Regions from separate parts of the Homo sapiens genome. Here region 2 is linked to region 1. The links are contacts of gene promoters, found by promoter capture Hi-C in blood cells and fetal thymus (Javierre and others, 2016). All regions are on one chromosome and are shown on one strand. Each heading gives the region's core, a stretch centred on a gene start or on the middle of the fragment in contact. The rest is flanking DNA. Distances are from core to core; before and after follow the strand shown.

Evidence for each region. Contacts are between HindIII fragments. The CHiCAGO score rates a contact against its expected background, and 5 or more counts as called.
Region 2: a contact is called between a fragment that was not itself captured here and the fragment with the promoter of PSMB1 in region 1, in 11 of 17 cell types (activated CD4 T cells, naive CD8 T cells, total CD4 T cells and 8 more). The highest score is 9.2, in activated CD4 T cells.

The regions. Positions count from the first base shown.
Region 1 is chr6:170,549,166-170,556,163 of GRCh38, forward strand. PSMB1 (proteasome 20S subunit beta 1) reads right to left here and starts at 4,142. Exons shown (of 6, transcript NM_002793.4): 1 at 3,965-4,142. The coding sequence starts at 4,077. TBP (TATA-box binding protein) reads left to right here and starts at 5,204. Exons shown (of 8, transcript NM_003194.5): 1 at 5,204-5,298. RefSeq lists enhancers at 3,895-4,274, 5,085-5,474. The HindIII fragment of the contact is 7,721 bases long and covers 1-6,329 here.
Region 2 is chr6:169,791,018-169,798,015 of GRCh38, forward strand. It overlaps LINC00242 (long intergenic non-protein coding RNA 242), which reads right to left. Exons shown (of 2, transcript NR_026781.1): 2 at 1-101. LINC00574 (long intergenic non-protein coding RNA 574) reads left to right here. Exons shown (of 3, transcript NR_026780.1): 2 at 4,167-4,345. Among named protein-coding and RNA genes, the nearest start is that of LINC00242, 4.3 kb to the right of the region's middle. The HindIII fragment of the contact is 997 bases long and covers 1,959-2,955 here.

The sequences.
Region 1 (6,998 bases), core at 2,892-5,391:
AAATAGAAGAATGCTCCATAGTACATAATGGGATAAAATACTCTAGATGTCAACAAAAACATGATTCAAATGGGAAGAGGAAAGATGAGCGGGAAGAGAATGAACGCCTGGCTACGAGTTGTCTGGGAAAAAAAAATTATTAATAAGCCTAAATCAGGGCAAAGTCTCCTTGGCAGGAGTTAACAGAAAAGCCAATGAATTATCATCACCAACACATTAAATACTTACTCGCGCAAGGTACTACTAATACAGAACAACTAAATACCACATCTGTGCCCTTGAGGATCAGGTATAGACAGTGGTACTACAACGCAAGCTCTATGAGTTTAGAGAAGATGAGATTTTTTTTTCTTGCTTCATTTCTTTATATCCAAGTCCTTATATAACGCCTATATAATGCTTATTTCTTTATACCCAATCCCTTATATAATGACAAATAGATGGACAAACAGTAAATTTTTCCCTCTGTGGCTGTACAATTTGACAGCTTATCAAAGAGACTTACAGTAGAATTCCAAAAGCAGACCGCCTGGGTTCTAATTCTGGCTTTCCCGTTTCGCAGATATGAGACTGTGGGTAAGTTACTTCTCAAAGCGTCAATTTCATCATATATACAACAGAGATCACTGCAGTTGCTACCTCATTAGGGTGTTCAAAGGATCAAATATGTAAGCCCTTATAGCAGTCCCTGACATGTAACTGGTCCTCTAGTAAGTGTTAGCTATAAGTGCTATGGCACTGGAGTATGACTAAGCACCTGGGCTCTGGAATTACATGAGACAGAGACCCACTCTTGCTACTTACTAGGTATGTGATCTTGGACAAATCCTCCAAATGCAAGTTGATGATAACAGTACCTGTGTCACAAGGTGTGTATATATATTTGGGTGTGTATATTTTAATGTACAAGGCTTGACTGATAACTATAACCACTGCTTCAATGCAATAGTGGAAATTAAAGGCATGGTGCCTCACAGACGTAAGCACTCAGGAAACTTAAGCCACTATTTTTACTGAGGAGGGATTTGTGCTAAAGCTCTCAAGAAGAAAAGGATGGCATTCCAGGTAATATAAACAGCAAGCAATGGCAAACAGGTAATTATTCAAATAGTACATACATTCAAGCAACTCATTCAGGCAGCCCTTTTTGCATAAGCACATGTAGTGACGTTAAGGTTTATGTGATGGACAGGGTTCCTACTGTAGAAAATCCCAAATGCCAAGCTAAAGATTTTGGAATTTTAGCAAGAAATCATGAAGGTATTCTGAGCAAGAATGATCTGTAGTTGTAACTACTCAAGAGGCTGAGGTGGGAGGACTGCTTGAGCCCAGGTGTTCAAGGCTGCAGTGAGCTATGATCGTGCCTGGGCATTAGAGTGAGACCTGGTCTTTAAAAAAGGAATGCAAGAGAGAGAAAAGTTCCATTTACAAAGTGGGGTTTTAGGAAGACTGCTCTGACAATAACATAGTATGTGAAATGGGACAGAAACACTGTTCTAATACTACTAATGCAATAGTAAGGTAGCAGGGTGAACAGTAAATCCAAAATCATCACAAACACACAAAATAGACAAATTTTTATATCTACGCAAATGTTTTAGGAACTGGGAAAACCAATTATGACATCCAAGATTTAGAACTTAGATGAACAGAATGATGGCATAATTATAAGTATTTTAAAGGAGAGGAGGCCGGGCACGGTGGCTCACACCTGTAATCCCAACACTTTGGGAGGCTGAGGGGGGGGGGGGGGGTCAATTGCCTGAGATCAGGAGTTCGAGACCAGCCTGGCCAACATGGTGAAACCCATCTCTACTAAAAATACAAAAATTAGCCAGGCGTGGTGGCAGGCACCTGTAATCCCAGCTACTCGGGAGGCTGAGGCAGAAATGCGTGAACCCAGGAGTTGGAGGTTGCAGTGAGCTGAGATCGCACCGCTGCACTCCGGCCTGGGTGACAGAGTGAGACTCTGTCTCAAAAAATAAGAAGAAAGGAGAAGAGGAGATGAAGGGGAATAATTAGCTTGCTTTTTGTTTTGCTAGCTGTCTTGAGTTGCCCTGAGAGCAGAAAAACCAGTTAAAAATGTTTTACTGAAGAAGCCGAATCGAGGGACTCATGAGAGGCAGAACTGGAAAACCAGATTTGGGAGTAATCCTCCCAGCAATGAGACATGAAAGAGTGCTGAGCGATAAACAAGGCGGCTAATGACTTAACTACATTTAAAGACAGAGTAGGAAAAGAGAATGAGGCCTCATTTTGCGGAAGCGAAGGCTGCCTGAGAGCCAGCTGCAGTAAACACTAAAGAAAAAGAACAATGACTGAGAAAAAGTAATCAGAAAGATCTAAGTAATTTTTAGGGCAGTAATGGCTTAAACTGGATTACAAGGGATTAAAAAGTGAGTAACGAGTAGGGCATACTGAACACTGAAAATTCTTATTTATAGAGAATAGCCTTACGAAACGGGTCCAATAACCCTCCCTACAATATACAACTTAATTAGTCATCACAGGAAGTGTTAAGGTGTATAATGGAAAAGCATCCATAAACTCAGTGGTGAAATAGCTATGAATTAAGTCCTGGCTCAACTTCACACCAGCTCTCTGACCCTGACAGTTTAACGTCTAATATAACCCTAGGATGCTAATATCATCTAACATTCACTTTTCATGAGGATTAAATAAGATGACAGCTTGCAATTTACAAAATGCATCTCTCTTGATTCTCACCAAAAACTATGAAGCTACTAAGGAAGATAAGGAAATTTAGGTTCAAGAAGTTCAGAAGTACCCAAAGTGTCCTTTAGTGGCAGAACCAAGGCTAAAATCAGACTTTCGTTATCTTTCTAACACACTCCCAAAATGTGCATTTATATTTCAAATTTATGAGGAACCAATTAACATTTTTGCTTTGTTTTTAAAATTTATTTTTGTAGAGATGGGGTCTTGCTATGCTGCGCAGGCTGGTCTTCAACTCCTGGCCTCAAGCGATGATCCTCCTGCCTTGGCTTCCCAAAGTCCTGGGATTACAGGTGCGAGCCACACTGCCCAGCCAATATTTTCTGTTTTAAGAACCATCGGTTCGTTCAAATTGCGTGTGTATATTTTAATGTACAAGGCTTGATTGGTAACTATAACCACTGTTTCAATTTACAGCTCTTCCCTGTCAAGAGTCTTAAACAGAGCATCTTTCTATAACCCTAAATCTCTGGCGTGCCACCACGGAAAATTATACTACTCAAGATAAAGCTGGTAATTAAAATAAAAACCAAAACTTGAACATAACATACAAGAACACACATACTAAAAGGTCCATCTTCTGAGTATTTTGTTTTCCTGAACTTAAGCTAAACGTTAAAAAAAAAAAGCACTTATCTATGAAACTAAGTTTGCTCAGCCAATCCCACCTTCTATTTGAAATAAAACAAAATGATTAAACTGCTACAATTAGAAATAACAGAAATCAGGCGGCTACAATTAGACATCTCGGCTACCAACCCAGCTATGCATCTAACAACACAGACCAAACAACCCTAACTTTTAAGTTTCAGACGCTAACCCTCTACCCTCGCCGGCTGGCATAAGAAACGTGTACATGAGGTCCAGTTTTAATGGTCTTCCACAGAGCAGAGGCTATGTTTCAATTTCTACTTTACTGTCTTACAGCAGCAAGGAGCACGGAGTGGCGGTCCACATAAAAACTCAAATGACATGACTGTAATGGGAAACCCTAAAAACCAAGGCTGTATCGCAATCACCAAGTAAACTTGAGCAAAGCGAGCCTGAAGAGGGAAACACAGGGCATGAGAGGACGGCAGGGAGACCGGCCTTGTGCGGACCCCCTCAGCTCAGGGTTCTGAGGCCTGCAGGAGCCCGGGGCAGCGCCATCACGGCGGTGACTCCTAAATAGGCTTCAGCAGATGGGGGAAGGGCGAAAGTGAAAGCCGCAGCTCTCTGGGGTTTTTACCCTCCGTTGAAAACGTAGGGCGAAAATCGCAGCTGCAAAGGGCCCGCGGCTCTGTGCGGTTCCATCCCCAAGTCTCTGCCAGGAGCCGAATACATGGCTGTAGAGGACAACATCGCACGGCTGCGCCTGCGGATCCGACACTTGCTGTCTCACGGCGAGATGGCTGCCTTGACCGGACGTTACGCCACTTCCGGCTTCTCCTGAAGTTCGCTCCCGGCCTCTCTATCTCACGCTAGTCGTTGCTCCTGGAGGGCTGCACGGCGGCTTGTCCCTTTGGTAGTTGAATCCCGCCCATTCCAAAAAGCGCTGACAGGGATGTAAAGGGTTTTTTTTGTTTGTTTTTTGTTTTTTTCCCCCTCGAAGAAAACATTGGAATTCACCCCAATGGACAAAAATTTAAGTCTGACCATACAAAAAAATTGTCAGAACTATGGCGCAACGGCAACTCGAATAACGGTGGGAACGTTAATTGTCCTGGCTAATAAAAAATGTATATAACATTTCCTATCCTTAAAGAGCTCACAACCTCACTGATAATAAAAAGTACAAAGAAAACAAGCAGTATAACATATGATTACGCCACAATGAACTACAGAAGGGAAAATCAAGGCGTGCTGAAGTCCCACTAAGAAACAACTGCGGAAAGAGCCATGTGACAACAGTGCATGAACTGGGAGTGGCAGAACTGAATATAAATGCATGTGTAAACACAAGCTGTTTGTTTTGCTTAGTGTTCCTTGTCATTCTACACGCTTGAAGATCAGCTAGCGTTCTTGCTGACAGGTAAGGAGGACGCGCTTACTGAGTGCCAAGCACTGCTCAGGCACTGATTCTGTCAATCTCTGTCAATCTCCCGACAGCCCAAGGGTAAGCACTGTTATCATTATTCAATTTTACAGAAAAAAAATGCGGGGGAGAGGTCAGGTAACTTGTCGAAGGTAACGCCGCTAGTTGCTTTAAACAACAACAACAACAACAACAAAACACACTCACACATATACACACACACGCCATTTAAAAATCGATCTTTCCTACGTCCAGCAAGGGCCAATTAGAGATGGCTGTGGCACGGCGGCCCCGCCCCGGAACTCCTCAAGAGCTTCGCCCCTCCTTACCTATGGAAACACAGGAAGTGACCTATGCTCACACTTCTCATGGCCTCGGCCCTAGTGGGAGCAACTCGCTGAAGCCGAGGGCAGAACTGGCGGAAGTGACATTATCAACGCGCGCCAGGGGTTCAGTGAGGTCGGGCAGGTTCGCTGTGGCGGGCGCCTGGGCCGCCGGCTGTTTAACTTCGCTTCCGCTGGCCCATAGTGATCTTTGCAGTGACCCAGGTAACAGATTGTACTCTTTTCTGACGGTTCGGGCGAAGGCCACCACTGCACTGAGGCCTGGGGGCAATGGTGGGGAAGAGACTAGGAATTGGCGCGCGTGCAGGCCCCTCGGGGGACGTTCCTCCCTTTCGTGCTGCCGCCGTTCCGGCCTGTAACGGCCACTCGGCCGCCACTCCCGCCTGGTGCCCTACTCTGCTGTGTTTCGCAGGCAGCTTCCCATCGTACGATTGTGGGGCTCAGGGTACTACTGGCTGGCTGGGCGGCGGCAGGCGGGACAGGACAGTCCCTTGCATCGAAGACCCTAAGTTTACCCTGCCCTGTCCTGCCATCCGCTTCTTCTCCATGTTAGAAGCAGATTCACCCAGATCTGTGCCCGCCTGTTTTGCTGCCAACATTGAGACTTAAATATTTTGTCAGAAGCCTGAGACAGCGGGCACGGTAGCGCTTAAGATATAATACACACCACTTTATTTGCAGGGTCTCCCGTCTCTCGGTTCAGGCCATCATGGTTTTCCAAATCTCTAGGTAGACTTTTCTGTGAAAAGACTGTGCTTCATTTAGTTATACAGACACTAGAAGGCTATGCAGAATTAATTTGATTGCCTCCAAAAAATATCGGATTTGATGTTTCAATTTCCAGGAGATGAAGATACCCAGCAAACAACTCTTTTCTGAGGATAAATTAGTGCAGTAATCACTGTGCGGTTTCTTCTGTAGACTTACTTGCAAAAAGTGGCCTGAAGCCACCGAAGGTCCTGGATAAATCTCTAATCATACTTATAATGGCTTTAAATCCTGCCGTCATTATCTCTTGCCTCAACCTTAGATTCCTGAAACGAAACTTCCGTCCTCCAGTTTTACTCCTCTCAAATTCATCTAGTCTTGCCAAATTAGATCTGTTCATACTGCACTTCCGAAATTCCATAACTGTTATTATTGCCTATGCAATAACATTGAAAACTCCTGATAGTATGAGCCCACCAATATGTGCTGTCTCATCTGCTGCAGTGACCTTCTATACAGTCATACTAAGCTTGTTGCCTGCATACTGCATGCTTTTTCAATCTGTCTCTTTCTGCTTGATTTCTCTTTTGTCTGAAGCCCTGATGTGTAAATTCCTACTCACCTTGTGAGACCCAAGTTAGATGGTCCCTGCTTTGTGAAAACACTGCGCTCTCTTCACAGTGATTGGCTGTTAGTCTATATTGTCTTCTCTTCCAGGGGTGTATATGGGCTCATTCATGATCACATACTGTATTCCAGGCATAGTGCTAGATGCAGAGATCACAAAGACATGTAGGCTGGTTTCTGCATTCAAGGAACTTAGCTTAGACCATACCTGCTGTTATAATACTATGTTTTACAGTAGTTATTTGCATACCCTTCATATTGAACACTTTGATGCCAAGGACTATATCCTCCTATCTTTATATCCTCATCTGCAGGACTTCTGTTATTGTTATTATAGGATAACTGTCAAAAAAAAAGTATATTTTAAAAAATATCTCTGATATATTTATTTCCAGAAGCAGAGCTTGCTTTCTTTTTTGGTCTGTTTTTCAGTGATGAGTATGTAGGATAGATAGTCTTTGGGGGCCTTTGCCCTTTCAAAGTGATCGTCAGAGTCTTTCATACATTCAGCAAATATCTGAGTGTCTGTTCTGTACCAGCACATGCTTGAAGTGCATATGCCTGAAGGA
Region 2 (6,998 bases), core at 1,207-3,706, 760 kb before region 1:
GATTTCCTAGGGACTCCAGATACGATGGCATCGATGTCAGTTAACTTGGCACTTCTTAAAATAGATCTATGATCAAATCTTAAGTTTTTCCGAATAAGACTCTGGAGGAATGCAGGAAGGTCATTTGATTACTTTAAAATAAGAGGATTTTATGTTAAAATATTGAAAAAGCCAGTCATAAAACTAAGCTCTGTACCAATGAATATAGTTCGCGAAGCCAGCAGCACAGGCTTATTATTATAAATATCAAACACCACCATTATGAGTAAGCTCATTTATTTTCAAAGCACTTTGCGATCATTAATTGTTCACGTCTGTGAATACCCCCTGAGAGACAGTATTATTAACTGCATTTGAAAGGAAGAAAACTAAGGCACAGAAAACCCGTAATTCATTGTCCTGAGGGGAAAAGGAGACACCAGGAACACGGCTGTCCTTTCGCTGCATCTTCTCTTTGGTAGAGATCCAGGGACATCTGGAACATCCACCCTCTTTCTCCCACTCACGGCCATGCCACCACCTAGTGCCTCACTGACATTTCCTCTCAATCTCAGGATAATCACATCGATGTAACACTTGGCAGGTTTGTTATCTCAGTGTCTATTATCTCAAAAATTAATCCTAATAGCAACCTTAGAAAGAGGCAATATTAGCCCCATTTCATAGGAAAATGAAGGATCAGTGAGAAAGTGACAGGTCTGTCACTGGCAGTGCAGGGCAGGGCCATTGTGGTGAGTCAGGCCTCGGCTGCAGGTCTGAGTTTATGCCATTGCCCCCATCTGTGGGGTCTAGGAGGCTGTTGTCTAAGCAGAAGGCATGACCCATCAGGGGCCATGGGTGGTGGGCACAGAATTGAGTCATCTGACTGCCTTCCCACCCACCTGTATGTGTTCTTTGTTTTATTTAAGTCCTGTGAGGGTAGTTTAGGACCTTGTCCCTTCCCACAGCATAGCACAGAAAATTGGGCAAGTCCAGACCATGACTAAATCCACTTTAAAAAACCCACCCCCGCTGAGACCGGCGGATTCTCTCCCTCCCCACTTGAGATATGATGTTGCCTTAAATGGTCCAGCAGTCGCGGAGCCTCAGGGGGCCTCTCTGCCTTAGTTGGTGCATTCCAGTGCTGCTCGGTCTGTATTTCCAGATCTTGCTTTTATCCTTTTATTTTCTAGAGTAATTGATAATTCCAATCTATCTGGCCTGCATGAGATTTATAAAATAAATGGACAAAATAGAAAATAAATATTTTATGGAGCCACCACTGTGTGCAAGACATTCTGCTAGGGAGGCTGAAGGGTCCCACAGCTTCTAAGGACCGGTCCCTGGCCTAATGGAGCTCACAACAGATTGAGAAGGGAGGAGGGACACCGCTGACACAGCCCACGCTGCCCAGTGCCGGGTGCAGGAGAGGCAGTGGATGCAGGGGATTGTGGGCAGGGTGTGCTGGGCCTGGGCCCTGGCTCCCTTTGGGAGCCTCATGGCCGCTCTGCTGTCTTCCTCCGTGCATGGCCTGGGCCGCATTGTGTGCTGTGGAGTTATTGGATCAGACCTGGATGCTGCAACCCAAGGAGAGAGAGGAGGACAGAGCCCAGGAGAAGAACAGCACTCGGCAGCCTGACCCCTAAAAACCAAACACAACAGAAACCAAGCCAATGGCGATGGTTGAGAAGAACCAAGCCAGCGTGTAGGGGAGGCTAGGGTGGCACCCTGGGCATCCAGGGTGGAGGGACTCGAGGAAAGGAATGACCGGAAACACAGCTGGGGAGGCCCGGAAGGCCGGGGGCTCAGGCTGAACTCTCTTGGGGTTCCCAAGGGGCTGACGGGGAGTGAATTGTCAGAGGTGGTCAGAGCCACAGATTCCTGGGGGACATGTACTGTGGCTCAGGATGGAGAAAAGGTGGGCTGAGGTCGGGACGGTCGGTGCAGGTGGGTGCACGAAGGCGTCTGGAGGAGGAGAAAGCTTTACAGCCAATGTCCTGGAGGGGCCGCAGACAGGAGGCACCAGGTGCTGGAAACCCCAAGCTGTTCCTTTTCATCGACGAAGAGGGGAGTGGGAAACATAGGGCGAATTTCAGAGTCTACTGTAAAGAGGAAGGATTTACCTGCCATGGTGTTGCTGGGTGATCTGGGCAAAGCTAGGGGAGCTGGTTTATGAGAAGTGAAGAGATAGGGTGGGGAGGAGGAGATCTGGACCTGGGCTTGGGAAATGTGAGGGGATCCAACTGCGAGAGACCAGAGGCACCCTCAGGACAGTGGAGCCCAGTTCTTTTCTCTGCAAATAAATCTCAGTTTTCCACATCTCAACATGTGAGGCAGCTCACCCTAGTTTCTTGTTCTTTCTCTAAGAGAGTTTGGCCTTCCATTGCCTACAAATGGGAGAAAAGCTAATGGGGCTCACGTACATGGAGGGGAGTTCAGGATGAGGCTGGTGGTTCAGGCATCCTGTGAGCCCAAGGGGATGCCACCGGCCTTGTGGTGCTTACAGAGACATGCGGCAGCTGTGATCCACATTGAGGGTGAGAAACAAGTGTGAGACTACAGACACCTGAGAGGCACTGTGGGGGCAGCACCCCGCAGGCAGAGGCAAACGGTGGGCCTGCGGTTTCCCTTCCCATCTGGTGTCTGCTGGTGGCTGGCAACCCCATGCCAAGACCTTTGGTGCCTGCGCTGTCCCCACCCCCTTTTACCCAGGGCCCCTGATGTGCTCGGCTCTGCCTGGCATGAATCCCAACAACTCACCCTGCCTCCTGCTTGTGCGAAATGTGCAAACGTGAACTTGCCCAGTATTGAAGAGCTCAGGACCTTGAGTTCCGAGAGCCAGGGAGGAATACTTTGTTGTTCTTTAGACCCAACAAGCCAGATCTGTTAACGCCAAACCTTCATTCCCAAGACAACCCTCCCTTTTGATGGCCCTAAGGTGCTGCCCCCTAATTTCATGACTTCTGCCACTGCAAAAGCTTCCCAAATTCGTACTGAGGCCACGCCTTTCAGAGTGGATGCACGAAGGAGGGCGGTTCATCGGAAGTGAATCTGAGATTAAACCCATGTATCTTAGCTCCCCAGTGCTCCCCTTCATCATTTCTAGAACATACGTAATAGCATGTCCTGGTCTTCTTGGTGGTCTCCTTAGGGATATAGGGGAAGGGCAGTTTTCATATCAACTTTCTTTATGTTACCATGAATTAGCTGCTTGCTGAATAAACTTCTCAGACAAAAATCCCACACTTCCCGAGTATTCGCCCTTCCACACCACAGTCACTTGCTCTAGTGTTTGCACACAGTTACATTATTATCAAAACTGCAGTTCAACTAAATGCTCCAAGTGCAGGTGAAGGTCTGTCCTCAAGGTGCTGCTTGAAGCAGGTGACTGGAACAGTTCCAGGTCCCTGCTGTTCTGGGGTGTCAGCATCAGCTCCGTTCAGGGGTGACAGACAGCAAGGCCCCAGCCGGGAGAGGCCAAGGGGACGGGAGTGAGAGGGAGAGCTCAGAGGCAGGGCAGGAGCCTCAGGATGGGAGATGCCAGGGCCTTGGCAGGCGGCCACCCCAGGACCAGGCAGGCTCCCCAAGCCAGGGGTTCTTTCCCTTCCAAGAGCAGGACTGAAAGGAGGCTCAGGAGTAAGGGGCAAGGGCGGATGGTGGCAGGTGCAGGGGGTGAAGGGGCCCCGCCTGGGAAAAGATGGCAATGGAGCTCAAGGAAATAGAAGCAGCTACGTTGCCACGGTGGCCACAGTGCAGGAGCAGGTGCTGCTGGGGAGCTGGGCCCCAGGCTTTATCTACACTGTCTCACCGTAAGTCCGCTCCCGACTTGGCACCATTGTCTGACTCCACACATTGCCATAGCCCTGTCAGGCAGGTGCTTGCAAAGGCCACAGAGCTGTTGAGTGGGTGCAGGAGGGAAGCACACCAGGAATTTGGCCCTGGTCTGAGGCTGCAGGGGACAGCTGGCTGTGGTCAGCAGGGCCCGAACCCCGGCTCTGGAGCCTGCAAGCCACCCTGAGGGTGCAGAAATCTGAATGTCTGGGGCCATGTGCAGAGTGTGGCCAAGTCGTAGCTGTGGCTTCAGCATTCAGAGCCTCTGCCTCTACTGGGGATTAATGCAGGTTTCCAACATCTCTGTGTTTGGTCAGTGCTGATCTTTTTCCTAACTGGCGACTTATTGGTTCCAGGAGAGTACTGGGCAGGCTGCAAATGTCTGTGTTAAAACAGCTCTGCTGGGCTAAGACAGGACAGAAGCAGACAGCAGGTGGATGAGACACAATTTCCTATCCAGCAGAACCTGCAGCAAGCTCCACAGCACCCTCCATGGGCTCAGTCTTGCTCCCGGGAAGATGGTTAATTCCATCAGGTCAGTATTTCCACACCTCCCGAGCCTCCACTTTCCTCTATGTGTTCTCTGAAACCCACCCCCCTGGGCTTGCCACTTAGATGATTCCAGAATTGCCTCACCACCCTTTACTTGCAGAACCTGGCCTTCATGTTATGGGGATGATTAGGAAAGAAAGTTGCTTCAGGAAATGGCCAGAAAGGGGTTCCACAGAACTGGCTTATGAAATAGTTTTGCAGAATCTGTAATTAGTAAGCTGGAAACAAAGGCAAAAGAAAAAACAGAAAATCTTATTGTAGAAAACATGCTTTGCAGTGTTTGAAAAGGCTGTTCTTGTTAAATTAACCCATTAATAAATACAAACCACATAATATTTGCTTTTAAATTATTGTCTGTAGTGTCAAAATAACTGGTCTATGAAGCCAGTGGGAGTCTGTCTAGTTGGAAAATAGTAGTATTTATTCTTTGAGGCCCCAAACATAAAAGAAAGTGTTGTTTAAATAAAAACATGGTGTGTGAGCATGAGAGGTGAGTGGACAATGGGAAATTACTTAATGAGTACAATACTCATCTTTTGGGTGAACACTAACAGCTCAGACTTTAGCACTGTGCAACATATCCATGTAACAGAATTACACCCGTACCCCATACATGTATAGAAATAAAAAAGATGCATCATAAACTGAACAAAACAGCCTATGATATATCTTGAAGAAATCATGCTTTAAAAATGATAATTTCATTATTGTATGGGAGAAAACTCACATGGCTCATAAATGAAAAACATGAAAAGCATTCAGTATAGTCTGTTCTCCATCCACATCCTCCTCTGCCTGGTTTCATTACACTCCTGTGTGTAACAAAGTCTTTCTTATTGATTTCTAGGAACTCTTTATATGTGGCACTAAGGGCATGAGTTATGATTAGGTTTTTGTGCGTCCTTAGAGCTTCCTGATGCAGATGCAAACACACAGGAATATGAGTGCTCACCTTCATCTTCTCTGTGTTTTACACAAATGGTGGCAGATTACATGCACTTTACCACACCTTGCTCTTATAAATTGGATAATCCCCCCTATGAGTACATGTAGCATTCCATTTTCTTACAGCTGTGGAGTATTTCAGTACCACACTGTATGGGTGGTTGGTGTTGATAGACACAGATTCTTTCAAATCTTTTGTTATAACAGATAATGCTGTTATCTTGCTAATATACCATTTTGCAGCCATCTTTGGAATCAGTCCCTAGGAGTGACATTGCTGGGTCAGAGGACACACATCTTTGTAATTCTGTAGGTGTTGTCAAATTATCCTGCATGCGGTCATGTGATTCGCTCTTCCCAGGCATGAAGGCCACTACTTCTCCACGGCTCCCTACCTGCACATCAGGAATGTCTTCTGACATTTGCTGATTGAATAGGTTTCCTATTATATTATTAGTAAGGCTGAGCATCTATTTAGTTTCTTTTCACTGGACCATTCCATCAAAGTTTTTTGCCTATTGATCTATTGAGTTTTTTTAATCTTTTTCTTATTGATTTTTTGGAGCTTTTAATATATTAAGGATGTAAGTTGTGATAAGAGGTGAAAATACATTCTTTTCCTCAGTGTCTGTCTTGATTTCTTAATTTGCTGATGGTAGTTTTTCATGCAGAAATTCCTATTTTGAGGTAGTTTAACTTATAAATTATTTTACTGCATTTGGATTTTTCAGTTTTAATTTAAAAAATCATGGAATTTGTCCATGATTTCTGTTAGTATTTTTATGGCTTTACTGATAACATTTAAATATTTTATCTATTTGAAATTTATTTTTATATACATGGTGGGACATGGGTGCAACTTTCATCTTTTATTATTTATTTTGCTGAATGCTACTCAGTTGTCCTAATGCCATTTATCACATAGTTTTTTTCACTAACAACTTTAGATGTCACTTTTATGACTTACTAATTTCCCTCCTATTTTTGTGTCTATCTGTATTTCCTGTGCTTTTCTGTTGTTCTGTGTGTTTATTCATGACCCAGTACAACAATGTTTTAGTTATTAAAACTATTATATGATCTAAGAACTGGTAAGGCTAATTTTCTCTTTACTCTTTTTTTTTCTGGATTTTCCTATTTTTGTTTGCTTCTTTTTCTATTTGAATGTTAGAATCAGATTGTCTAGTTCTCACCTCACAGTAAAATAAATTAACAAATAAATAAAATACAAAGATCCAGAAAAACCTCAGTCTATTTTTATTTAGGTGCATTCATTTACATAATAAGTCAGGGAAAGTTGGCATTTTATGATGTTGAGTCTTCCTAGTCGAGAACATCATAAGTCTTTCTATTTGTCCAAGTTTTCTTTTATAAACTTTCGAGGGTGGATAAAAATGTATCTCATATAGATGTTAACTTTCTTGTTAAGTTTATTCCTGGGAACTTTTTCTTGCTAATTAAATGGGAGTAATTTCTTTTGTTATATCTTCTAAAGCTATTGGTTTCTGTATATCAATTTTATCCCTACATCTTACTAATTTTCTTATTATTTGTTGAAGAAATTAACTTGATATTGTCTTTTGGTTTGAGATAGGTGTATCTTACCATGTTATGAAAATACTTATCAAATCCTATTTTATTAAGTTTTTTAACGCTAAATTTCATCAGATACGAAATGCAGCTTTTATACA